Regions from separate parts of the Homo sapiens genome. Here region 2 is linked to region 1. Evidence: promoter capture Hi-C in 16 types of primary human blood cells and fetal thymus (Javierre and others, 2016). All regions are on one chromosome and are shown on one strand. The core of a region is centred on a gene start or on the middle of the fragment in contact, and the rest is flanking DNA. Distances in the headings are between cores, read along the strand shown. Region 1 holds the start of PPAN (peter pan homolog). Region 2 holds the start of ZNF121 (zinc finger protein 121).

Region 1 (4,702 bases), core at 793-3,292:
CTCAACACACGTGGGAAACAGAGCTCCATCAGTATTTCTTTCCACCGGCTGGAAAAGGTGCAGCTCACGGGGTGTGGACCGCTGGGGGAATCTCTGGACACTTTTGCCCAGCATCATCAGACACAGGAGTGGGATTTGACCTCAGGACTCAGCAGACCCAGGAGCTCCCAGTCTCAGCGCTGGGAGGAGTGAGCAATCCATCTGAGGGCCTGTGGCACCTCTATCCGCTGCACCCCCCCATACCTGCCACCTCGCCAGGCCAGACCCACCTTGTGCACGTTGATGGAGGGGAACAGGTTCTGGAACATGGTGGCCATGAGCTTCACATGCATACCATGGGGGCCAAAGCTGTTGAGTACCAGGAGGGGTGGGTGGGCAAACTGCTGCTCGTGCATGCGGTGCCGGCGCAGTGAGGAGACCACATCACGCACCAGCGAGTACTGTAGGACAGGAGAGAGGAGGGGGTGACCACCAACCACACATGGCTGCGGACAACCCCAAGTCCAGCTCCCACCCCACATGGCTTTGTACCACCTCCACCCCTCTCACCTTCTTGACCTGGAAGGTCAAGGTGGGGCCTCCTGGGAGGCGCATCAGCTTCTGCAGGAGAAGAAAAGATCAGTGACTCTGGAGGGGTCTAGCAGAGGTGCCCGGAGTAGGCACCTTTGCCCCATCTCTTCTTCAGAGCGTTTACTTTGAAGCCAGAAATCACAGCAGCTCAGAGGCATATGTGTTCATCATGAGAGATAGGGGAAGGGGGGGTCTGGGGGAGATGAAGGGTGAGGGCGTCTACTCACAAAGTAGACATTGGTCTCTGTTTTGCTCAGGATCAGAAAGTGTGTGACCCCGAGGGGCCCAGCCACTGCCACGCAGTCCTTCAGCGAGTTCTTCTTACGAACCTGGAAATGACAAAAAGAAAAAAAGAAAACATAGCTTATCCCTTGTTGTGACAACTATAAGCTGACGGTGCAGATCCTGTTATGGTCTGTCTTGCATCTGACCCTTTCAACAAGCCCAGAGGAGCAAAAGGATCTTAGCCTTTAGAGTCAGTCGGACGCAGATTTGAGTTCTAACTCTGTCTCTTGCTCACAGCGCATCTTCCCATTGACAAATGAGCGAACTCAGGCCCAGAGAGGTTAAGTAACTTGCATCAGATACTGGGGAGAAGTCAGTTTCCAACCCTGCTTTGCTGCCTCCAGATTCTAGTCTTTTTTTTTCTAACACGGTCTCCTCCGGTCGCCCAGACTGGAGTGAAGTGGCACGATCCCGATTCACTACAGCCTTAATTTCCTGGGCTCAAGGAATCCTCCCACCTCAGCCTCCCGAGTAGCCGGGACTACAGGCACGCAACACCATATCCGACTAATTTTTCTATTTTTTGTAAAGACGGGGTTTCACCATGCTGCTCAGGCTGGTCTCGAATTCCTGGGCTCAAGTGATCCTCCCGCATCAGCATCCCCAAATGCTGGGAATACAGGCATGAGCCACCACGCCCGGCTCCAGATTCCAGTCTTAACTGTCAGGCTTAGGCGACTATCTATCTCCCAAGCTGCGCGCCCTCACTCCAGCCCAGCAAAAGCCCTGAAAGGCAGAAATGATGCTCCCCATGAGGGTCTTTTTTTCCAGCTGGGGAGACTTAAGTCCTCCCACAGTTTTACAGCGGGAGCCATTACTGCAGCTACGAAGACTAGGCCGAGGGTGGGTGGAGGCGGGCTGGGGGTGGGGTACAAACCTGCAGACGGCTGGCAGTGAGCGGCTCCATGACCCGCCGCACGTCCAGGCTGAGCTGCCGGATGTTGCGACCCGTGCAGCCTCGCGTGAACACGAACGAGTGCGGGTTCGCGGCATAGGCCTCGAGGTTGCGGAGCTGCGCCTGGGCGCGGGCGCGCTTCTGGTGCCGGGACTGCGGCGACGAGAGACAAAGGGTCAGCGCCGCGACCTCGGCCGGGACCCCACCTGCGCCACCTGCCTCCCAAGCTGCCGGGCCTTACCCTCCCTGACTGTCCCATGCTGCTGTGTCCTCCACGAGGCCTCCTGCGTCCGCCGCTTCCGGCGCTGCGCAGCTCACTTCCGGCGCCTGAGAGCCGGCACGGCGTGGGACGACATCAGGCGGGCCTGCGCACTAGGTGGCCTCTGGGAGCGGGGAGGGGCAATCAGATGGAGCGGTTGCTATGGAGACACGGGTGCCTGTTTCTAGGGAGACCGGGGCGGGGCTACGCGGCTCCGGGCTGCAGAGAAACGAATCCGCCGGTTCGAATCCCGCTTCGGCCCATTTCCTCCAGCTGGGCTAAAACCACTTTCTGCATTCCGAGGCTCCTAAAATATCCCAAAGTAAGGCTGATAATGTCCCCCGGGCCCACGAATTAGGAGCGACCATGTATGCACAATGTTGGGCGCTCTGGCGCCAAGTACTTGGGGAGAAGCCACCGGAGGGAATGACTGTGGCAATCATTCACTTTAGTCTCGCAACTCCTCTGGGCCAGCTGTCCTCCCCGGGTACCCCTGTCTGCAGACAGGCTGAGGGATGGAAACTCCACATCACCTTCTGGAAACTCAGGGCAAGGCGGGCGTTTCGTGAATAACTCGCCCCCTCCTTCTTTCCGCTCAAAGCCTCAGTCTTGGCCTCAGGCCTCTGGCTTCTTCCCCAAAACCTTGCAGTGGGGGAAAGGGACACCCCCTCACTGGGCTGAACATTACTCTCTCCTCCCCCATCGGCCTCCTCTCCCTCCTTGCTCTCTCTGGCACCCCAATTCTTCCTCCTCTCCCCCAGATGTGTCTCCCCTCCCCCTCGTCTTCCCCCTGTCTCTTTCTCCCTCTTGTAACTTTGTCTCTGTCATCAGTTGTCTCTTTCATCATTTATAACTGAAGATGGAAACTAAAGAAGTTTCCTTTCTCTGTGTCTGGCCCCATCCCTGTTTCTTTCTTCTCATCTGCCTCCCTGTGGTCTCTCCCCATCTTCCCATCTCTCTCTGTCTCTCCCCATCTCCCCGTCTCTCCCTTTCTCTGCCATCTCCCTATGTCTCTCCCATCTCCCTATGCCTCTCCCATCTCCATCTGTCTGACTCTCTGTATTCTTCAGCCCCTCTCTGTGACTTATGAAGTTCCCTCCCTCTCTACTGCCAATGGGGAAGCCAGAGGGGGCTGAGGGTGGGGGGCCGAGGGGCCCAGTGTGGGGGCCCCAACCCAGGCCCAGAGCCCAGCCTGGCAGCCTCTCTCAGATCTGGGACGACCATTTCCTTTTTCAACCCTGGAGTCCACTCGAGTTACTCGGGAGCTCAGGATGGTGCAGACCAGGGGAAGGAGGTGACTCTCCCGGCGTGTGGCTGGTCGTCGGTGGGGCCTTTGGACAGGTCTCAGACCCTGGGCCTGGGCTCTGTGGGGCTCTATGTGAGTTTCTTTGTACCCCTGGGAAATGACTGCATGGTTACTTCCCCCAGTTCCGTCCTCGTGTGATTTGACTTGTGTGAAAATGTGACCGAGTGTGTGGGAGACAGACGGTGACCTCTGTGGTGCGGTGGATAGGTTTCCGGGTGTCAACTGTGTGTACCTGTTTTGTATCTGTGCACTACTGTGTGATCACAAGAACCAGGATGTGGACAAGCCTGACACACAGATAAAGACCCACTCAGCCCACCCCATTTCCCTTTAAGTTGTGATGTGTGTGTGACCATATTTGGAACATACAGTTGTTGCCTGAAACTGTTATGTTTCCAGCTGTGTCTTTTTAAAAATTTTTTTTAATCAATGAGATATCCTTTATTTATGAAAGCATAGTTCCAATGCAGAAGTCAAGCTTTATGGTTATATATTAGGATAGGTTCAGATCCAATATGACAATGTTTAGCACTAACTTTAACATGTTAAAGCTCTGATTCCTGAATGTTTTTCTCACTTAATATATTCTCTCCAATGACAAGCTGGTGTGCTTGGCTTCTTATGCTGAAAAATATATGCCTGAATTCTATAACAAGCTATTAACAAAATCATGAATAGTTAATTAAATAAGTGCCAACACTACATGGAACTTACTGGCCACCAACTCAGAACCATAAAACTACACACACACACACACACACACACACACACCACACACACAAACAAAACAAAAAAAACACCAAAGAAAGATAGCTATCACTGTACATATGAATACTGTCCAGGATATCAGATCAATTATCAAATCCAAGGTCTCTGGTGTTTTGTCTCACAGTGTTGAATATATGAATGCTTCTCTATTATACTGACTTGTATTATTTTCAACAAATAATTATGTGGACTCAAAATCTTACATTTTTATTTCTTTTCTTTTTTTTTTTTTTTTTTTTGAGACAGAGTCTTACTCTGTCGCCCAGGCTGGAGTGCAGTGGCTCACTGCAACCTCCGCCCCCCGGGTTCAAGCGATTCTCCTGCCTCAGCCTCCTGAGTAGCTGGGATTACAGGCATGGGCCACCACACCCGGCAAATTTTTGTATTTTTAGTAGAGACGGGGTTTCACCATCTTGGCCAGGCTGGTCTCGAATTGCTGACCTCGTGATCTGCCCACCTTGGCCTCCCAAAGTGCTGGGATTACAGGCGTGAGCCACCGCGCCCAGCCTTACATTTTTATTTCTAATTATAAAATCCAGATTAATCCAAAAAACATAAATCACATGTAACTGAGGTAGGGTTTTCACTTTAAGAATATATTGTTTCTATCACAATTTAA
Region 2 (4,702 bases), core at 1,128-3,627, 520 kb after region 1:
TCTTTTTCCTTACTCAGCCAAGAAATCACTTACACCCTGAATGCGTATATGGTTTTATTTTTCACATTTAGATCCCTAGTCCATTTAGAGTTTATTCTTGTATATGCTGTGAAGTATGGATTTAATTTCATCTTTTCTCTGATGGCTACCCAGCTGTCTTAGACTTTCCATTACAAATGGCTTTTTTTGCCTCATTGATCTGAAATACCTTTTTTTTTTTTTTTTGAGATGGATTTTCACTCTTGTTGCCCAGGCTGGAGTCCAGTGGCGCGATCTCGGCTCACTGCAACCTCTGCCTTCTGGGTTTCAGCGATTCTCCTGCCTCAGCCTCCCGAATAGCTGGGATTACAGAAAGCCCACCACCATGCTTGGCTAATTTTATTTTTGTATTTTTATTAGAGACAGGGTTTCACCATGTTGGACAGGCTGGTTTCGAACTCCTGACTTCAGGTGATCCTCCCGCCTCAGCCTCCCAAATTGCTAGGATTACAGGTATGAGCCACCGCGCCTGGCAAAATACCACATTTATGAACCAAATTCCTACATGTTCTTGGGTCTGTTTTTAGATATTTTATTAGTCTGTTTCTGCTTCATGTGCTAGTACCACATAGTTTTAATTATAGAGGCTTTATAGTATGTCTTATTTATTTTTATTTTAATATAATTTAATTATTTGCCTTGTGTGAAAACTGTTAATAGTATGTTTTAACATCTGCTGCTCATCATTGCTTTTGTTTTTGTTTTCTTGGTTATTATCAGATATTTATTCTTCCACATAAACTTTAGTATCAACGTACCTAACTCCAGAAAAAACTTTTAATATTTTTACTGGGATTATGTTACATTTCTGAATAAACCTGGGGAGAATGTCTGGTGTCAGTGCTATTTTACAATGTAGGAAATGTGGTCCTGGCCCATGTGGGAAGATCAGAAAAATAACAATAGAAATACATGTTTTTGGCCAGGCGTGGTGGCTCACATCTGTAATCCCAGCACTTTGGAAAGGTGAGGCAGGCGGATCATGAGGTCAGGAGTTCGAGACCAACTGGGCCAATATGGTGAAACCCTGTCTTTACTAAAAATACAAAAATTAGCCGGGCATGGCGGCGCCTGCCTGTAATCTCTGCTACTCAGGAGGCTGAGAGAGAAGAATCGCTTGAACCCGGGAGGCAGAGGTTGCAGTGAGCAAGATCGTGCCACTGCACTCCAGCCTGGGCAACAGAGCTAGACTCCATCTCAAAACAAAAACAAAAACATATTTAAAATTTTTTTTAAACAGAGACGGGGTCTTGCTGTATTGCCCAGGCTGGTCTCAAACTCCTGGCCTCAAACGATCCCTTGGCCTCCCAAATTGCTGGGATTATAGGCATAAGCCACCATACCCAGCCAGAAATACATACTTGATGAAGACAAAAAAAAATCAAGATTTACAGAAAATATTATTATATTGAAAACGTGGCCGGGTGCGGTGGCTCATGTCTATAATTCCAGCACTTTGGGAAGCTGAGGGAGACAGATCATTGGAGGTCAGGAGTTCGAGATCAGTCTGGCCATCATGGTGAAACTCTTCTCTACTAAAAGTACAAAAATTAGCTGGGCGTGGAGGCAGACATCTGTAATCCCAGCTACTCGGGAGGTTGAGGCAGGAGAATCACTTGAACCCGGGGGGCAGAGGTTACAGTGAGCCGAGGTCATGCCACTGCACTCCAGCCTGGGCAACAGAGTGAGATCTGTCTCAAAAAAAAATAAAAAATGAAAAAGAAAAACGAAAAAAGAAAACGCAATGGAACCAGCAGGTTCTAAAAAATAAAGAATGAAGAAATAAAGGCCTACAGAAAGCCTGACTGAATAGAAGAGATAGACCATGCCATTCACTGGCAGCTTTATCCATATGGAAGAATCATGGAAAGGCTCTAGGAACATGAGATGTATACAAACAAGCTTTATATATATGTATACACACATATATATTTTAATAAAGGATGTTGCTATTTTGCCCACGCTGGTCTTGAACTCTTGGACTCAAGCTATCCACCTGCCTTAGCCTCCCAAAGTGTTGGACTTACAGGCCTTAGCCACTGTGCCCACCTGGGAAAAGCTCTGCAGGAGCATCCCCTGGGGTGCGTCCCATCCCCCACGCCCGCCCTTCCAGCAGGTCCGGCCACCTGAACCGCCGGCTAGCCGGGTCCCACCTCTAAACCGCCCCCAAGTAAGGGCCTGTCCGCGCCCACCCGGGAAGAAACTACAATTTCTGTGTTTGACTGGGTCCTATGTGGCTGAAACTCGAACCCAGGAGCCCCGCCCGGCCCGAGGCTCGGAGCGGAAGTGACGTCAGCGCACAATCGCCATCTTTTCCGGCGCTGGCTCCGCATGGTCAGTGCCATTTCGCCTTTATCGTGGTGGAGTCCACCCTGGCTGTGGTGAGTTCCGCCTGCTTGGGGATCCCGGAGATAGCGGGGGGCGGCAAAGGAACGATTGGGTGCTGTCGCCCAGGAGCCTCTCCGATCCGCCTCGTTTCACTCTCTTCTCCAGGGGCTGTCGGTCCTCCTTGCGCGGCCAGTGGCTAGAGGCCGCAGGCTCAGTGGGTCCCAGTCAGGAGCCAGGTCGGGAAGTGTGTTTGTCCCGACTCCGCGCGTTTTCTGGAGTGGTTTCATCCGCTGTGCTCCCTTCTTCAAAAGCTTGGAAAGCAACCTTTGTGAGTTTCTTTCTTTCTGAAAGTAAAAGGATTTCTGCCGTTCCAGTCAGGTTGGCTCCGGCCCCGCATTTCCGCGCCTCAGGAACCTGGCGTTTCCGGCATGTTCCTGGTGAACACCTGCAGAAAATTGGTTTCAAGAGGGCTCTGACTTCCATTTCTTTGCTTAAAAATGTCTCGTCTGAGAATCTGGCATTGATGTCCTATTCTTATTTTTGACACATTACTTTCTGATGGAAAAAAAATAGTCGTTTAGGGTGTGCCTATATCTGCATGTAAATATGAACACGTGTAGACTGTGAGCCTTTAGTTTCTTATTTTATTTTCTTGGACTTAATGTTTTTTGTTGTTACCAGCTACAAGCCTTTCTACAAAAGAAAGGCAGGCTGGGCGCGCTGGCTCACGCCTGTAGTCCCAGCCATTTGGGAGGTCGAGGCGGGCAGATCACCTGAGGTCAGGAGTTCGAGACCAGCCTGGCCAACATGGTGAAACCCTGTCTCTACTAAAAATACAAAAAATTAGCCAGGCGCGATGGCGGGCGCCTGTAGTCCCAGCTACTCGGGAGGCTGAGGCAGGAGAATGGCGTGAACCCGGGAGGCGGAGCTTGCAGTGAGCCGAGATCGCGCCACTGCACTCCAGCCTGGGCAAAAGAGGGAGACTCCGTCTCACACACACAAAAAAAAAAAAAAAAAAAAAAAAGCCAGGCTTGGTGGCAGTCCCCTGTAATCCTAGCTACTTGGGAGGCTGAGGCAGGAGGATTGCTTGAACCTGAGAGGCCGAGGTTGCAGTGAGCCGAGATCTGCCACTGCACTCCAGCCTGGGCGATGAGAGCGAAACTCCGTCTCAAAAAAGAAAGAAAGGCAATAATACACAGCTGTTGTCTTTATCTGAAGTTCCTAGGTCTGTACCCCCCCACAGAGCTTCAAAACGGGCCCACAGGAAGAAAGGATGGAGGCTTTTGTTTGTTTTTTTCAGACGGAGTCTTGCTCTGTCGCCCAGGCTGGAGTGCAGTGGCGCGATCTCAGCTCACTGCAACCTCCACCTCCTGGGTTCAAGTGATTCTCCTGCCTCAGCCTCCGAGTAGCAGGGACAACAGGCATGGGGACCATGCCCAGCTAATTTTTTTTTTTTGTATTTTTAGTGGAGACAGGGTTTCACCATGCTCGCCAGGCTGGTCTCGAACTCCTGACCTTGTAATCCGCCTGACGGCCTCCCAAAGAGCTGGGATTACAGGCGTGAGCCTCCGCTCCTGGCCAGGATGGAGGCTTTATAATCAGAATATTATTCTAGTATTAGTGTAATAAAGTAGTATCTATTGAATTTATTAACAGCATGTTTAGACTAAGTGTAGTTTTGACATTTTTTTCTGAAAAATTTGATCCTAGGGAAAACTTGAACATCTAACACACCCAGTCTAGTAGTTTTTTTTTTTTTTTTTTTGAGACAGAGTCTCGCTCTGCTACCCGGGTCGGGGTGCAGAGGTGCGATCTCGGCTCACTGCAACCTCTGCCTCCCAGGTTCAAGTAATTCTCCTGCCTCCCTAGCATTAGGTGCGTCCATGTGAAGAGACCACCAAACAGGCTTTGTATGAGCAATAAAGCTTTTAATCACCTGGGTGCAGGCAGACTGAGTTCAGAAAAGGAGTCAGCAAAGGGAGATAGGGGTCGGGCAGTTTTATAGGATTTGGGTAGATAGTGGAAAATTACAGTTAAAGGAGGTTGTTCTCTTGCGGGCAGGGGCGGGGATCACAAGGTGCTCAGTGGGGAGCTCCTGAGATTCATTGTCCAGGAGAAGGAATGTCACAAGGTCAATTGATCAGTTAGGTTGGGGCAGGAACAAATCACAATGGTGGAATGTCATCAGTTAAGGCAGGAACTAGCTATTTTCGCTTCTTCTTGTTGTTCTTCAGTTGCTTCAGGCCATCTGGATGTATACGTGCAGGTCACAGGGAGTCTGATGGCTTGGCTTCGGCTCAGAGGCCTGACACCTAGTAGCTGGGACACAGGCACA

The links. The method cuts DNA at HindIII sites, captures the fragments that hold promoters and counts their contacts. A CHiCAGO score of 5 or more calls a contact.
Region 2: a contact is called between the fragment with the promoter of ZNF121 here and the fragment with the promoter of PPAN in region 1, in 1 of 17 cell types (fetal thymus). The highest score is 6.1, in fetal thymus.

The regions. Positions count from the first base shown.
Region 1 is chr19:10,103,702-10,108,403 of GRCh38, reverse strand. PPAN (peter pan homolog) reads right to left here and starts at 2,042. Exons shown (of 12, transcript NM_020230.7): 1 at 1,992-2,042; 2 at 1,733-1,903; 3 at 798-899; 4 at 550-600; 5 at 270-440. The coding sequence starts at 2,009. It overlaps PPAN-P2RY11 (PPAN-P2RY11 readthrough), which reads right to left and starts at 2,042. Exons shown (of 13, transcript NM_001198690.2): 1 at 1,992-2,042; 2 at 1,733-1,903; 3 at 798-899; 4 at 550-600; 5 at 270-440. The coding sequence starts at 2,009. It overlaps SNORD105 (small nucleolar RNA, C/D box 105), which reads right to left and starts at 753; the gene lies at 669-753. It also overlaps a transcript of ANGPTL6 not described here. RefSeq lists enhancers at 1-473, 2,116-2,165, 1,762-2,405 and a silencer at 1,846-1,895. The HindIII fragment of the contact is 12,960 bases long and covers 1-3,795 here.
Region 2 is chr19:9,582,179-9,586,880 of GRCh38, reverse strand. It overlaps ZNF121 (zinc finger protein 121), which reads left to right and starts at 2,377. Exons shown (of 4, transcript NM_001008727.5): 1 at 2,377-2,420. RefSeq lists enhancers at 1,987-2,798, 3,613-4,425, 4,426-4,702. The HindIII fragment of the contact is 737 bases long and covers 1,944-2,680 here.